Regions from separate parts of the Homo sapiens genome. Here regions 1, 2 and 3 are each linked to region 4. The links are contacts of gene promoters, found by promoter capture Hi-C in human tissues and cell types (Jung and others, 2019). All regions are on one chromosome and are shown on one strand. The core of a region is centred on a gene start or on the middle of the fragment in contact, and the rest is flanking DNA. Distances in the headings are between cores, read along the strand shown.

What was found. Contacts are between HindIII fragments. The study calls those that stand out against the background at their distance.
Region 1: a contact is called between a fragment that was not itself captured here and the fragment with the promoter of SNED1 in region 4, in 1 of the 25 tissues and cell types used here (H1 embryonic stem cells).
Region 2: a contact is called between a fragment that was not itself captured here and the fragment with the promoter of SNED1 in region 4, in 1 of the 25 tissues and cell types used here (dorsolateral prefrontal cortex).
Region 3: a contact is called between a fragment that was not itself captured here and the fragment with the promoter of SNED1 in region 4, in 1 of the 25 tissues and cell types used here (lymphoblastoid cells).

What each region holds. Positions count from the first base shown.
Region 1 is chr2:241,514,331-241,517,508 of GRCh38, reverse strand. No RefSeq gene overlaps it. Among named protein-coding and RNA genes, the nearest start is that of STK25, 7.3 kb to the right of the region's middle. The HindIII fragment of the contact is 7,266 bases long and covers 1-3,178 here.
Region 2 is chr2:241,678,221-241,681,498 of GRCh38, reverse strand. DTYMK (deoxythymidylate kinase) reads left to right here. Exons shown (of 5, transcript NM_012145.4): 3 at 1,180-1,270; 4 at 2,850-3,047. Among named protein-coding and RNA genes, the nearest start is that of DTYMK, 7.0 kb to the left of the region's middle. The HindIII fragment of the contact is 3,955 bases long and covers 1-3,278 here.
Region 3 is chr2:241,715,093-241,718,639 of GRCh38, reverse strand. All of the region lies in intron 5 of ING5 (inhibitor of growth family member 5), which reads right to left. Among named protein-coding and RNA genes, the nearest start is that of ING5, 15 kb to the right of the region's middle. The HindIII fragment of the contact is 9,714 bases long and covers 1-3,547 here.
Region 4 is chr2:240,996,800-241,000,076 of GRCh38, reverse strand. It overlaps SNED1 (sushi, nidogen and EGF like domains 1), which reads right to left and starts at 1,459. Exons shown (of 32, transcript NM_001080437.3): 1 at 1,027-1,459. The coding sequence starts at 1,239. RefSeq lists a silencer at 1,408-1,827. The HindIII fragment of the contact is 20,006 bases long and covers 1-3,277 here.

The DNA.
Region 1 (3,178 bases), core at 44-2,543, 520 kb before region 4:
TGTGTGTTTCGTGTGTGTTGGGTATGTGTATGTTGTATGTGTTGGGGTGTGTGTTGGGTGTTGCGTATGTACATTATGTATGTATTGGGATGTGTGTTGGGTATATGTGTGTGTTGGGCATGTGTGTATTGGGGCTGTGTATTTGTGTGTTGGGCGTGTGTTGTGTGTATTGGGGGTGTATATGTGTGTGTTGTGTATGTTTGTGTGTGTGTTGGGTGTGTGTATATGTCAGGTGTGTGTGTTGGGTATATGTGTGTGTTGGGGTGTGTGTGTTGGTGTTGTGTGTGTTGGGTGTGTGTTTTGTGTATTGGGTGTGTTGTGTTGGGTGTGTTGAGTGTGTATTGGGGGTGTGCATGTGTGTGTTGCGTGTTGGGTATGTGTATGTGTGTTGGGTGTGTGTGTGTGTTGGGGTGTGTGTGTTGGGGGTGTGTGTTGGGTGTGTGTGTGTTGGGTGTGTGTGTGTTGGGGGTGTGTGTTGGGTGTGTGTGTTGGGTGTGCACGTTGTGTGGTGGGGTGTGTGTGTTGGGGGTGTGTGTTGGGTGTGTGTGTGTTGGGTGTGTTTGTGTGTGTGTTGGGGGTGTGTTTGGGGTGTGTGTGTTGGGTGTGTGTTCGGGGTGTGTGTTGGGTGTGTTTGTTGGGGGTGTGTGTGTGTTGGGGGTGTGTTTGTGTTGGGTGTGTGTGTATGTTGTGTATGTGTTGGGATGTGTGTTGGGTATATGTGTTGGGCGTGTGTGTGTGTTGGGTGTGTGTTGTGTGTATTGGGTGTGTTGTGTTGGGTGTGTTGAGTGTGTATTGGGGGTGTGCATGTGTGTTGCGTGTTGGGTATGTGTATGTGTGTGTTGGAGTTGTGTGTGTGTTGGGTATGTGTTGTGTGTGTGTTCAGTGTGTGTGTTGGGTATGTGTGTGTGTTGGGGTGTGTGTGTTGGGTGTGTGTTGGGGTGTGTGTGTTGGGTGTGTGTTGGGGGTGTGTGTTGGGTGTGTGTGTGTTGTGTGCGTGTGTTGGGGGTGTGCGTGTGTTGGGGGTGTGTGTGCTGGGGGTGTGTGTGTTGGGTGTGTGTGTGTGTTGGGTGTGTTTGTGTGTGTGTTGTGGGGGTGTGAGCACAGAGCTTATCTGCCCTCCCTGGGCATGCTGCCCTCCAGCAGCTTGCACATGTTCAGGTATCTGCAAGATCCCAGCACCATTTGTTGAAAAAATTACTCTTCCCCTTTGTTCACTGGCTGGAACAGAGCTAAAACAAAACAATTAAAATAAAGTAATTATTTCCCAACTGAATTGTCTTGGCATACTTTTAAAAAATCAATTGATCATAAGTCTATTTCTGGTAATGAATTTGATTTCATTAATCTACGTATCTTTTTTTGTTTGTTGTTTGAGATGGAGTCTCACTCTGTCACCCAGGCTGGAGTGCAGTGGCACAGTCTCAGCTCACTGCAACCTCCACCTCCCAGGTTCAAAAGATTCTCCCGCTTCAGCTTCCGGAGTAGCTGGGACTACAGGCGCCCGCCACCAGGCCCAGTTAATTTTTTTTTTTTTTCCCGAGACGTAGTCTAGCTCTGTCACCCAGTTTGGAGTGCAATGACACAATCTCAGCTCACTGCAACCTCCGCCTCCTGGGTTCAAGTGATTCTTGTGCCTCAGCCTCCTGAGTAGCTCACATCACAGACGTGTGCCACCATACCCAGCTAATTTTTTGTATTTTTAGTAGAGATGGGGTTTCACTATGTTGGTCAGGCTGGTTTCAAACTCCTGACCTCAAATGATCCGCCCGCCTCGGCCTCCCAGTGTTGGAATTACAGGCATGAGCCACCTTGCCCTGCTGTACTCACTCTTAATTATTATATGGTACATATGTAAACGTCCCGTAGACTTGGAGTTTTAAAACATTCTTTACCCACCGAAGTGTCCTATGCTTTCTTCTCACACCAAAAAAACCTTAGCTTTTGTGGCCAGGCAGCAGTTCATATTGTTGTCTTTGCTCTCGGTGGCTTGAAACTAAAAGTGATTCTGACATTTTCTGAACTAAGACTGAAGTGCAGTTTCCCTTTCTCTTCTCCTACTTCTAGATGCCATTTTTCTATCTTCTTCCTTACTTCTACTTCTACATGGTTAAAGTGGAAAACCTTCACGTTCTATAGAGAATAATTATAAATGTTAAAAATCAACATATGGGAATTACATTATTAAGCCTAAGACATTACTGCTGAGCCTGTGACAGCTATAATTCCCTCATCTTTGTGTTTTCCAAAGATGGCCTCAACATTACCTCCCTCCTCTATGTTTGTCTCACAATGTGAGTTACATGCTTTCCCCCCTTAAATCTGGGTGAGCCATGACGATGGTGGAAGTGGTGCTAACCAGCTGCCAGGTCATTACGAAGCCATGCACTGTGCCAGGTCATTACGAAGCCATGCACTGGCACCTTTTCCTTCCAGAATGCTAGCCTTTGGAATCTCCTGCTGCAGACTCATTTGTGTCTCTTCTACTCCAAAGTTCATATGCTGAAGCCCTAACCGTCAATGTATTTGGAGATAAAGCTTACAAGGAGTTAATGCAAGTTAAATGAGTTCATAAGGGTGGATCCCTGATCCAACAGGATCGGGCCCTCATGAAAAGAGACACCAGAGAGCTCTCTGTCTGCCATGTGAGGACACAGTGAGAAGGCAGCCATTTGCAAGCCAGGAAGAGGGCCTCACCAGGAACTGAATCAGCCAGCATCTTAATCTCAGACTTCCTAGCCTCCAAAACCGTCAGAAATAAATGTCTATTGTCATAGTCATAGGCTGGTATTTTGTTATAGCAGCCTGAGCAGACTAATGCAACCTTCTCATCCCCTCTCCTGCCTACCACACTGTGAGAAAGCTCGAGAAGCCAGTGAGAAGAATGGAGGCCCCAGGCTCACAGCCCTGGATGAGCTCCAGCCTTCAACCAGTACAGACCGAGTGGCCACATAAGCGAGTTTTCTTCAACTTGGATCCTCCAGCCCCAGCTGGCACATGTGAAGCAGAAAAGAGGTGCCCCATCAAGACCTGTCCAAATTGCAGATTCTTGAGCAAAACAAAGTATTGTTTTTAGCCGCTGAGTTTTGGAGTTGTCATGCAGCAACAGACACCTGATACATTTGCTTGTAAACTTTTTGCTTTCCCAAGTAGTGCAAATCTGAAAATGTCTTTATTACAT
Region 2 (3,278 bases), core at 360-2,859, 680 kb before region 4:
AGGCAGGTCTCGAGCTCCTGGGCTCAAGCAATCCTCCTGCCTCTGCCTCCTTGAAAGCTGGGATTACAGGCGTGAGCCACCGTGCCAGGCCTGTGATTCATTTTGAATTTATGTTCGTGGAGGGTATACGGTCTGGTCTAGATTTATTCTCTTTCATGAGGATGTCCAGTTGTTCCAGCAGCGTTTATTGAGGAAAATGCCTTTGCACCATTGCATCCCTCTGCTGCTTTGTCAGAGGCCAGTTGACTCCTTATGTGGGTGCCCCTGTGATTTGAAGGCCCCAGTGAGACTGGCTGAGTCGAATGAATCGGACTTTTCTTTCTCTGTCTTGAGCAGTGCTTCTCACTAGTGTCAGGCCCCGTGTCTTTGTACATCTGTGATCTTGGCAGCTGTAGGGATGATGGTGGACTTGTGGTATTTGGCTGAGAACATCCTTGCAGTCCAGGCTAGGGGTCATGAGCATGGATGAGTCACCTGCTGGCTGTGCCCACGCTTCCCCCGCCACCATCCTCTGCTCTCTTCTTTGCCTGTGCTTTCTTCTTCCTCGACAGGGTAGAGCTGGCCTCTCTGACCAAGACAGCTGACAGTGCATCTCCTTTCCCCTGCCGTGTTTCTGGAACATTGAACTTTACCAGTTGTGTTTGTTACTATTTAGTAAGGTTATCTTCTCCATGTTGGGTTTTGCTGGAGGTGTGGGTATGGCATCTTCTAGAGAAGATCCAGACCTTTTTGGATTAAAAGTAAGGTTACAAATCACTGTGCTGTACTTGTTGTCATATGAGATTTCTGAGTTGTATTGTTGGGATAATTTTCTTTTTCTTTTTTTGAGATGGAGTCTCGCTGTGTCACCCAGGCTGGAATGCAGTGGTGTGATCTCGGCTCACTGCAACCTCCACCTCCTGGGTTCAAGCAATTCTCCTGCCTCAGCCTCCCGAGTAGCTGGGATTACAGGTGCCTGCCACCATGTCCAGCTAATATTTTGTATTAGTAGAGACAGGGTTTCACCATGTTAGCCAGGATGGTCTCGATCTCCTGACCTTGTGATCCGCCCGCCTCAGCCTCCCAAAGCGCTGGGATTATAGGGGTGAGCCACTGCGCACAGCCTGTTGGGATAATTTAAGCTTGACAGTTCAAGGCCTATGAAACAGGACCAGGGCTCAGGAGCATCCTCTTTTTCAGGCCGTTAATTAAGGAAAAGTTGAGCCAGGGCGTGACCCTCGTCGTGGACAGATACGCATTTTCTGGTGTGGCCTTCACCGGTGCCAAGGAGGTGAGTGCCACTTGGCCTCCTGTCAGGCGAGCACAGATGTGTGGACCCAGGACTGCCCTTGAATGCGAGTACGAGTGACATGCCTCAGATTACTCTGCAGAGTTTCGTGATTCTTATATTCCTTTTATCTCTTTGCTAGATTAATTTGGTTTTATCAATAAGAAGAGCAAACATTTATGTAGCTAGAGATTGTTTCACAGATAGAACCATAGTTGGTATTTGGATTATATTTTCCACACGCTTTTTTTTTTTTTTTTGGGGAGACAGTCTCTCATTCTGTCACCCAGGCTGGAGTGCAGTGGCACGATCTCAGCTCATTGCAACCTCTGCCTCCTGAGTTCAAGCGATTATCCTGCCTCAGTCTCCCGAGTATCTGGGATTATAGGCATGCACCACCGTGCCCAGCTAATTTTCATACTTTTAGTAGAGACGGGGTTTTACCATGTTGGCCAGGCTGGTCTCAAACTCCTGACCTCAAGTGATCCACTCATCTCAGCCTCCCAAAGTGCTAGGATTACAGGCATGAGCCACTGCACCCAGCCTCCAGATGCATTTTCAAAGATGGTTCATTTGTAGTACTTTTTTCCCCCGTTTTTTGAAAGAGGGCGTCTCCCTCTGTTGCCCAGGCTGGAGTACAGTGGAACAAGCAAAGCTCGCTATAACAACTCTTGGGCCCAAGTGATCCTCCCGCTTCAGCCTCCCAAAGTGCTGGGATTACAGGCGCGAGCCACCGTGCCCGGCCACGCCCTCACTTTTTAATTCTGCCATTTCTTCATGTGTTAGCTTGAGTCCTTCCCCTCTGAAGTATTACGTTGTATAATAAGGAGGACAAGACTCATGATTCCTTTGCTTCTTCCTGCTGTGCGGATCAGCTGACAGAGCCGCAGGCTCTGTGGGAGGTTCTCGTGGACGCCTTCCCTCAGCTCATTGTGCTGTTGTGTGATGTGTGGCCTGCAGTCACAGCCTTTCTGGTCCTACCTTTCCTCCGGAAACAGGACAGCATTTGGAGGGAGATGGGATGAGTAAGGGAGGGAGAGAGGGTGCTGGCACAGCCCTGGCAAGAAGGGCCAGTGGATGAGACTAGGCTGGCACATAACAGGCTCTAGGAGTGCCTGTCTTCTTCCTGCTCTTCCACGGGAGAGGAGACCCTGGCGTGTGTGTGGCAGAAAAGACACTGCCAAGGACCTCGTGCCTGTGTCCGGACCCAGCTGCTCTGTGCTGCAGGCGTTCTAGGCCGGGGGTCTCCAGGGGTTCTGTACATAGACTGTTTGCTCCTGGCCAGCAGGCCTGTAGCTGTGCTGGGAGGGCCTCCATGGGGCCTGGGCTGTGGGTGGCGGGGACTGGCAGCCGTTCTATCTACCTACTTTTCTGTCCACTTGTCTGTTTACAAAGGAAAAACAAAGGTGACACTGGAGAAACCGACACGTTTGAGGTTCTAAAAATTAAACGAGCCACAATATAAACAGTCTCACATCTTGGTACCTCACCAAATGTCCCCTCATTTTTTCCTGTTTTTACGACTTTCGAAACAAAAACCTAGACTACACTAAGCTTTAACTGTTGGGTTCTTTCTTGGCAGAATTTTTCCCTAGATTGGTGTAAACAGCCAGACGTGGGCCTTCCCAAACCCGACCTGGTCCTGTTCCTCCAGTTACAGCTGGCGGATGCTGCCAAGCGGGGAGCGTTTGGCCATGAGCGCTATGAGAACGGGGCTTTCCAGGAGCGGGCGCTCCGGTGTTTCCACCAGCTCATGAAAGACACGACTTTGAACTGGAAGGTGAGAATCCCAGAATTGCACACTAGGAAGCGTGGAGAAGTGGCTCAGGATGACACCGTGGTGGCTGGCACAGTTGTGTCAGCAAAGCTGCTGCCGTTTCCGTCTGGTCCTCCCAGATGTGGAGCCCCGGGAGTAGTCGTTCAGGGGTTCTCGGTGCCAGCAAATTCTTTTTTTTTTGAGACAGAATCTTGCTCTGGGTGCCAACCCAGGCTGGAGTGCAATGGCACGATC
Region 3 (3,547 bases), core at 100-2,599, 720 kb before region 4:
AGTTCGAGACCAGCCTGCATAACACGGTGAAACCCTGTCTATACTAAAAATACAAAATTAGCCAGTCATGGTGGCACGTGCCTGTAATTCCAGCTACTTGGGAGGCTGAGGCAGAGAATCGCTTGAACTTGGGAGGCGGAGCTTGCAGTGAGCCAAGATTGTACCAGTGCACTCCAGCCTGGGTGACCAAGCAAGACCGTCTCAAAAAAAAAAAAAAAAAGACAGAAAGAGAAAAGAAGGAAGGAAGGAAGGAAGGGAGGGAGGGAGGAAGGGAGGGAGGGAGGGAAGGAGGAAGGAAGTGAGGGAGGGAGGGAGGAAGGGAGGAAAGAAGAAAGGAAGGAAGGAAAGAAAGAAGGAAAGGGAAGGTGAGAGGCTGAGCTGGGCGGATCACTTGAGGCCAGGAGTTTGAAACCAGCCTGGCCAACAGGCTGAAACCCCGACTCTACTAAAAATACAAAACTTAGCCGGGTGTGGTGACGCTCACCTGTAATCCCAGCTACTTGGAAGGCTGAGGCGGGAGAATGGCTTGAACCCGGGAGGCAGAGGCTGCGGTGAGCGGAGATTGCGCCACCGCACTCCAGCCTGGGCCACAGAGCCTGAACCTGTCTCATAAATAAATAAAGTAATAGAAACAAATCAAACTGAAGTACAGAAAGAAAAAAGCTTGCAGAAAGTAAGCAGAGCCTCGGTGAGCTGTGAGAAAATCTAAGCTAAGGAACGCACAGGGAGCTGGACAGCAGGAAGAGGAGAAAGGAGAGCACAAAAATACTGGAAGAACTGTCTGAAAATTTTCCAAATTCGATGCAAAGTATAAACCAACAGTTCAAAGATGCTCAACAAGTTCCACGCAAAATATACACAAAAAAATCACACCAATACACATCATAACCAAACTGTTAAGAGCCAGTGACAATGAGAAATCTTAAAAGCAAAAAAAAAAAAAGAAACCACCAAAAATAATTATTATCAGTAATTTATCATCAGAATCAATGAAAGACAGAAGAAAATGAGAGAACATCTTTAGCGATAAAAGAAAAAAGGTCAACCTAAAATTCTATACGCAGTGAAATAAAAGCATTTTCAGAGAAACAAAAACAGAGAATTCATCACCATCAGCATACATGTACTGCAAAAAATGTTAAAGTTCTTCAGTAGAGGAGAAATGACAAGACAGAAATTTGCATCCACATAAAGAAATATACGTAAGCAGAATATGTATGGAAAAAAAATTTTTAAAGAAAGAAAATAAATATTAAGAAATAATAGTTGGGCCAGGCGCGGTGGCTCATGCCTGTCATCCTGCCACTTTGGGAGGCTGAGGCGAGAGGGTCACTGGAGGCCAGGAGTTCGAGACCAGCCTGGCCAACATGGCAAAACCCCATCTCTACTAAAAATACAAAAATTAACCAGGTGAGTAGGTGGGTGTAATCTCAGCTACTCAGGAGGCTGAGGCACAAGAATCACTTGAACCTGGGAGGCAGAGGTTGCCGTGAGCTGAGATCGCACCACTGCACTCCAGCCTGGGACACAGAGCAAGACTCTGTCTCAAAAAAAAAAAAAAATGAAGGTTACCAGAAATGGCAACTATATGAGGTAACTATATATGGGGTGACTTTTGTGGTGAGAACACTTAAAATCTACACATTTTTTTGAGACTATATTGTTATTAACTGTAGTCACCATGTTGTAAAACGGATCTTTTGAACTTATTCCTCCTATCTAAATGAAATTCTGTATCCAACGTCTCCCCTGACCACCCCAGCGCCTGACCACCATTCTACTCTCTACTTCTGTGAGTTCAACATCTTTACATTCCACATATATTTTAAGGCGTGTTTCACGTCATCAGTGGTTTGCATCTAAGGTAATAACGTGCTGGGAAGCTCAGATCACAGGCAAAGTGAAGGACAACAGCACAAAGGCAGGAAATGGAAGAACACTTGTGTGGAGCCACACGTTAAACATCAAATAGTGTAATATCTGAAGCTCACTGTGATAACTTAAGGAAACTGAGTGCACACACTAGAACAATCCTTAAAATACAGGGGCCGGGGCAGTGGCTCACGCCTGTAATCCTAGCACTTTGGGAGGCCGAGGTGGGTGGATCACTTGGGGTCAGGGGTTCGAGACCAGCCTGGCCAAAATGGTGAAAACCTGTCTCTACTAAAAATACAAAAACATTAGCCGGGTGTGGTGGCGCACACCTATAATCCCAGCTACTGCGGAGGCTGAGGCATGAGAATCGCTTGAACCTGGGAAGCAGAGGTTGTAGTGAGCCAAGATCATGCCATTGCAAATTGTACTCCAGCCTGGGCAACAGTGCAAGACTCCGTCTCAAAAAAAAAAAAAAAAAAAAAAGCATGGCTAATAAGACAAGAGTGGGGAAAAAAACGGAATACTAAAAAATACCTGATTAGTCCAAAAGAAGACAGCAAAGGAGCAGAAGGAACAAACAGAAAACTAATAGCAAGATGGTGAACCTAAATCCCACCATATCATTAATTATGTTAAATATGAACAGACCAAATATTGCAATGAAGGCCGGGTGCGGTGGCTCATGCCTGTAATCCCAGCACTTTACAGGGAGGGGAGGCCAAGGTGGGCAGATCATTTGAGGTCAGGAGTTCGAGACCAGCCTGCCCAGCATGGTGAAATCCTGTCTCTGTTAAAAATACAAAAATTAGCTGGCTTTCAAAGGATTTCAATTATGTAATGTTCTTTGACCACAACAGAAGTCAACTAAAAAATTAAAATTAGAAAGGTATCTGAAAAATCCCAAATTATTTGGAAATTGAGACACATACTTCTACATAAGTTATAGGGCAAAGAAGTAGCATGAAAAAAAAAATTCTAGGTCAGGTGCGGTGGCTCACGCCTGTAATCCCAGTATGTTGGGAGGCCAAGGCAGGCAGATCACCTGAGGTCAGGAGTTCAAGACCAGCCTGGCCAACATGGTGAAACCCTGTCTCTACTAAAAATACAAAAAAAAATTAGCCAGGCATGGTGATACGTGCCTGTAATCCCAGCTACCCAGGAGGCTGAGGCAAGAGAATTGCTTGAACCTGGGAGGTGGAGGTTGCAGTGAGCCAAGATCACACCACTGCACTCAAGCCTGGGCAACAGAGTGAGGCTCCGTCTCACCAAAAAAAAAAAAAAAAAAAAAAAAATTCTATTCCAGCACTTTGGGAGGCCAACGTGGGTGGATCACTTGAGCTCAGGAGTTTAAGACCACCCTGGGCAACATGGTGAAACTCCATCTCTACCAAAAATATAAAAAATTAGCCAGGCATGGTGGCATGCACTTGTGGTCCCAGCTACTTGGGAGGCCGAAGTGGGAGGATCTCTTGAGCCCAGGAGGTGGAGGCTGCAGTGAGCCAGGATCATGCCACTACACTCCAGCCTGGGTGACAGAGTGAGACCTCATCTCAAAAAACAAGAAAAACATTCTAAAATATTTTAAATAGGTAAACGAAATAAAAATTTAAAACAATATCAAAATTATATCAAAATCATAATATATCAAAATTTGTGGAGTGCAACAAAGATA
Region 4 (3,277 bases), core at 210-2,709:
AGGAGTTGGCAGTACAGGTGGTGTTACTCCGGGCAGCACAGATGGCAGAGGCGATGTGGCTGGCAGTGGGTTGAGGCTGGAGGTGGGCGAGGGTATGAGAGGGCTGATGGTGGAGGTGGCCGTGGTGACGGAGCTGGAGGGGACTCTACTTGAGGCTGGCCCAGCAGTTTTCTAGATATGATCTGGGGTGTTTCAGGGAACCACCAGGTACCAGTGCACCGTGGCCTACTCAGGGCGAGTGCTCCATGCAGTTACCAGGTGCATTTCATTCCCTGGGCTGCCATAAGGGCTTGGCCTGGGGTCACACTCTGGGAGCCATGGAGACAGAACCGGCACTCGGGCCTGTTCCTTCAGCTGAGCTGAGCCTGCTGTCATGAGTCCCTGGCCCCAGGAGTCCCACTGGGAGTCCTGTTTGGAGAGTCTGAGCCTGAGCGGCCAGCCCCCAGACTGCGGAGAGGACGGCAGGGAGGGGCAAGCCTGTTGCTAGCCCGCCTAGGAGGGTCAGCGAAGAAGCAGGCCCTGCCCTGAGCGCCTGGGCAAGGGGTCCAGCCTCCTGGCTCTGGGCCGCACTGGCGTCCACGGGGGGCGGGGCTGAAATGGCCCAAGGAGGGGCTGCAACCTTCGCAGGCCCGGCGCCCCACTTGGGAAACTGAGGCCCGGGAAGCCCGTGCCCACGGCCACATTGCCATGTGTGAAAACCAGGGCAGTACCAGGACCCCTGCTCTCCCCTGGGAATCAGGCGCCGGGAAGACGCGCTCGGCAGGTCTGGCAGGGGCCGGGGCGCCGCGCTCCACTCGCCCCCGCCTCGGTGCCCGGCGGCTGCCGCCCCCGCCCCGCCCGCGCGCCTCTCCCGCGGGCCGCTGTCCGGCCTTGGCCGCCGAGGAGGAAGCGCTGTCCTCATTCCACCTCGGGCCGCCCCGGTGCCAAGTGGCTGGCGGCGGCGGCGGGAGTCCGGGCCCGGCGGGCAGCGGCCGGGGCGCAGCTCCCTCCCCTCCCGGGCGCCCCGCGAGCCCGGGGGTTACTCACGTAGAGTCCGGAGTGCTCGGCACCGAAGAACGGGAAGGGCACCGAGAGCGGCCGCAGCCCCGAGCCGCCGTCGTCCTGCTTGGGGGTGACGGCGTCGCCGCGCTCGGCGCCGAACGGGTAGAAGTCGGCAAGGGCCACCGCGCCGCGCACCCCGCGCGCCCCAAGCCCCAGGGCCGCGGCCACCAGCAGCGCCCAGGCGACGCCGTGCCGCATCGCGGAGGTGTGCGGGCGGGACGGGGCGCTGGCGGAGCAGGGCGCTGGGGGACTAGGCTGCGCGCGGGGGTGGCCGGCAGGGCCAGGCGGGGTGCGGGGAGCGCGGGCGCGCCCGCTGGCCGCGCCGTCGGGGGCTCCGCGTCCCGCGCCCGTTCGGCCGGGCCGCGCTCTCGCCGCAGCTCCGCAGAGGAAAGCGCCGGGCGGGACCGCGTTCGGGGCCAGCCCCGCCCCTGGGGCCACGATTTAAATATCCAGCCCGGCGGTCACTCGGGGGGGCGGGGCCATGCAAATCGGGCGTCTCTTAAAGCGCCAGGCCCCGTGGGAGGGCGCGGGCGCGCGGGGAGCTCAGTCCCCTGGCGTGGGCACAGGCAAGGTGAGGGCTCTGCGGGCGCGCGCCCTGTGGTGGGGCCATGCTCCGCCCTGGGTCCCTACCCTGGTGGAGGCGCCTGGGCCCTCAGTGCCGTCCTGGGACAGACCTGTGTCCCTAAGGCCTGAGACGCTGGGCCCGCCCTGAAGGCGTGTCATCACGCGGGGGGCGGGAGGGGACCCTGGCCAGGCAGTGCCTGAATGAACCCGTTCCGTGCTGCCCCCTTCCCAGCCCTGAGCATGGGGACGCCAGGCTTCCAGCCACAGGGGCAGACTAACCCCGGAGCCCACTCCCTGCCTGGGTCTGTGTGAGGAAGAGCCCGGGCCGGAGACTAGGAGGCATGGAACAAAGTGTTTGCATCTGCGTGGCCGCATCAGGAGAAATTCCTGGGAGGCTCGGGACCTCGGGGCGACCCCTGGGTAAAGCAAACCCTCCGTGGGGAAGACTGACCCACTCAGGCCCTGGGGGCAAGTGCGTGCATGACACCGGCCTTGGCAGGTGGGGGCAGGACTCTGAGTCCCAGTATTTGAATTCAGGGTCCCCACCCTGTGGCCTGCCAGCCCTGCCCCCTGTCTCTTGGGCTGCTGGCCTGGGCTGCCTGTCTGTCCTTCCTCAGGGCCTCAGCCGGGACCACCTCTATGTCCCCAGGCCCATGGCAGGGTCTGATTCCTGGAACTCACCCGGCCCACCGTGGTCTCTTCTCTTAGATCCTGGTGTTGGGTGGTGTTGGCTGCGTGCCACACTGGGGCCCCCAAAGATAAGAGTGCACCCCTCGAAGACAAGCAGGAAAGGCCGGGCTGATGGTAACTGCATCTACCACTGAGGTGCTGGGTGGTTTTTTGTTTGTCTTTGCGTTTGTATCTTCTGAAATATCTCAAGTGAGCACGTGTTGTTTTTCAGTGAGAGCCAGGCACAGTCAATGTTATTTTTAAGAAGCAGCGGAGGGTTCTCTGCGTGTGACTGGGTGTTGCCGGTTCTCACAGATCCTGCACTTGGTGTTTTCACTCAGAGGTTCATGACCCTTTAGACTTGGTGTCAGGGCCGGGTGCAGAATTGTTAAGGAGGAGCTGACCCTGCACTGGCACCTCCTGAAAGCTTGCCCCTGGCGCCTCTCCCACCCTGCATGGGGTGGCAATTCTGTTTGCAGAGAGGCAAACTGGGCCTGGGAGGGGAAGGGCTCTGTCCCGCAGTTAGCCCTTAGGTCACCGTCCCAGCTTTCAGAGCTCCAGGACAGCAGCACAGCCATGGTTCCAGGGCCAGAAAGGTCAAGGCCTCCTGTCTTTGGAGGGAGGCACCAGAGAGGGCGTGGAACTGTAGAATCCCTACTTGAGGCCGGCTCTCGGTGAGAGCCTGGCAAGGAGAGACATGTCTCCACGCACATGCACACACGTCCACGCACACATGCATACTTATTCACATGCACGGAGGCAGCATATGCCCATACGTGGGGCCTCAAGAACATGCTTTAACCCCTTCCTCAGCCCAGCCCTGGCCTCCCTGGTCAGGGAGGGCTGCTCCCACCTCTGGCTGGCACAGGCCGTGGAGTCAGGACAAGGCCCCATGTAGCAGCGTTGGGAACAGAGCTGCCAGGCGTCACCGTGGCGGGAATCAGGGAGAACGCTTTTCTATTTGTCTTTTTTCTAGAAAAACCTGGCAGCCCTCTACCCTCTT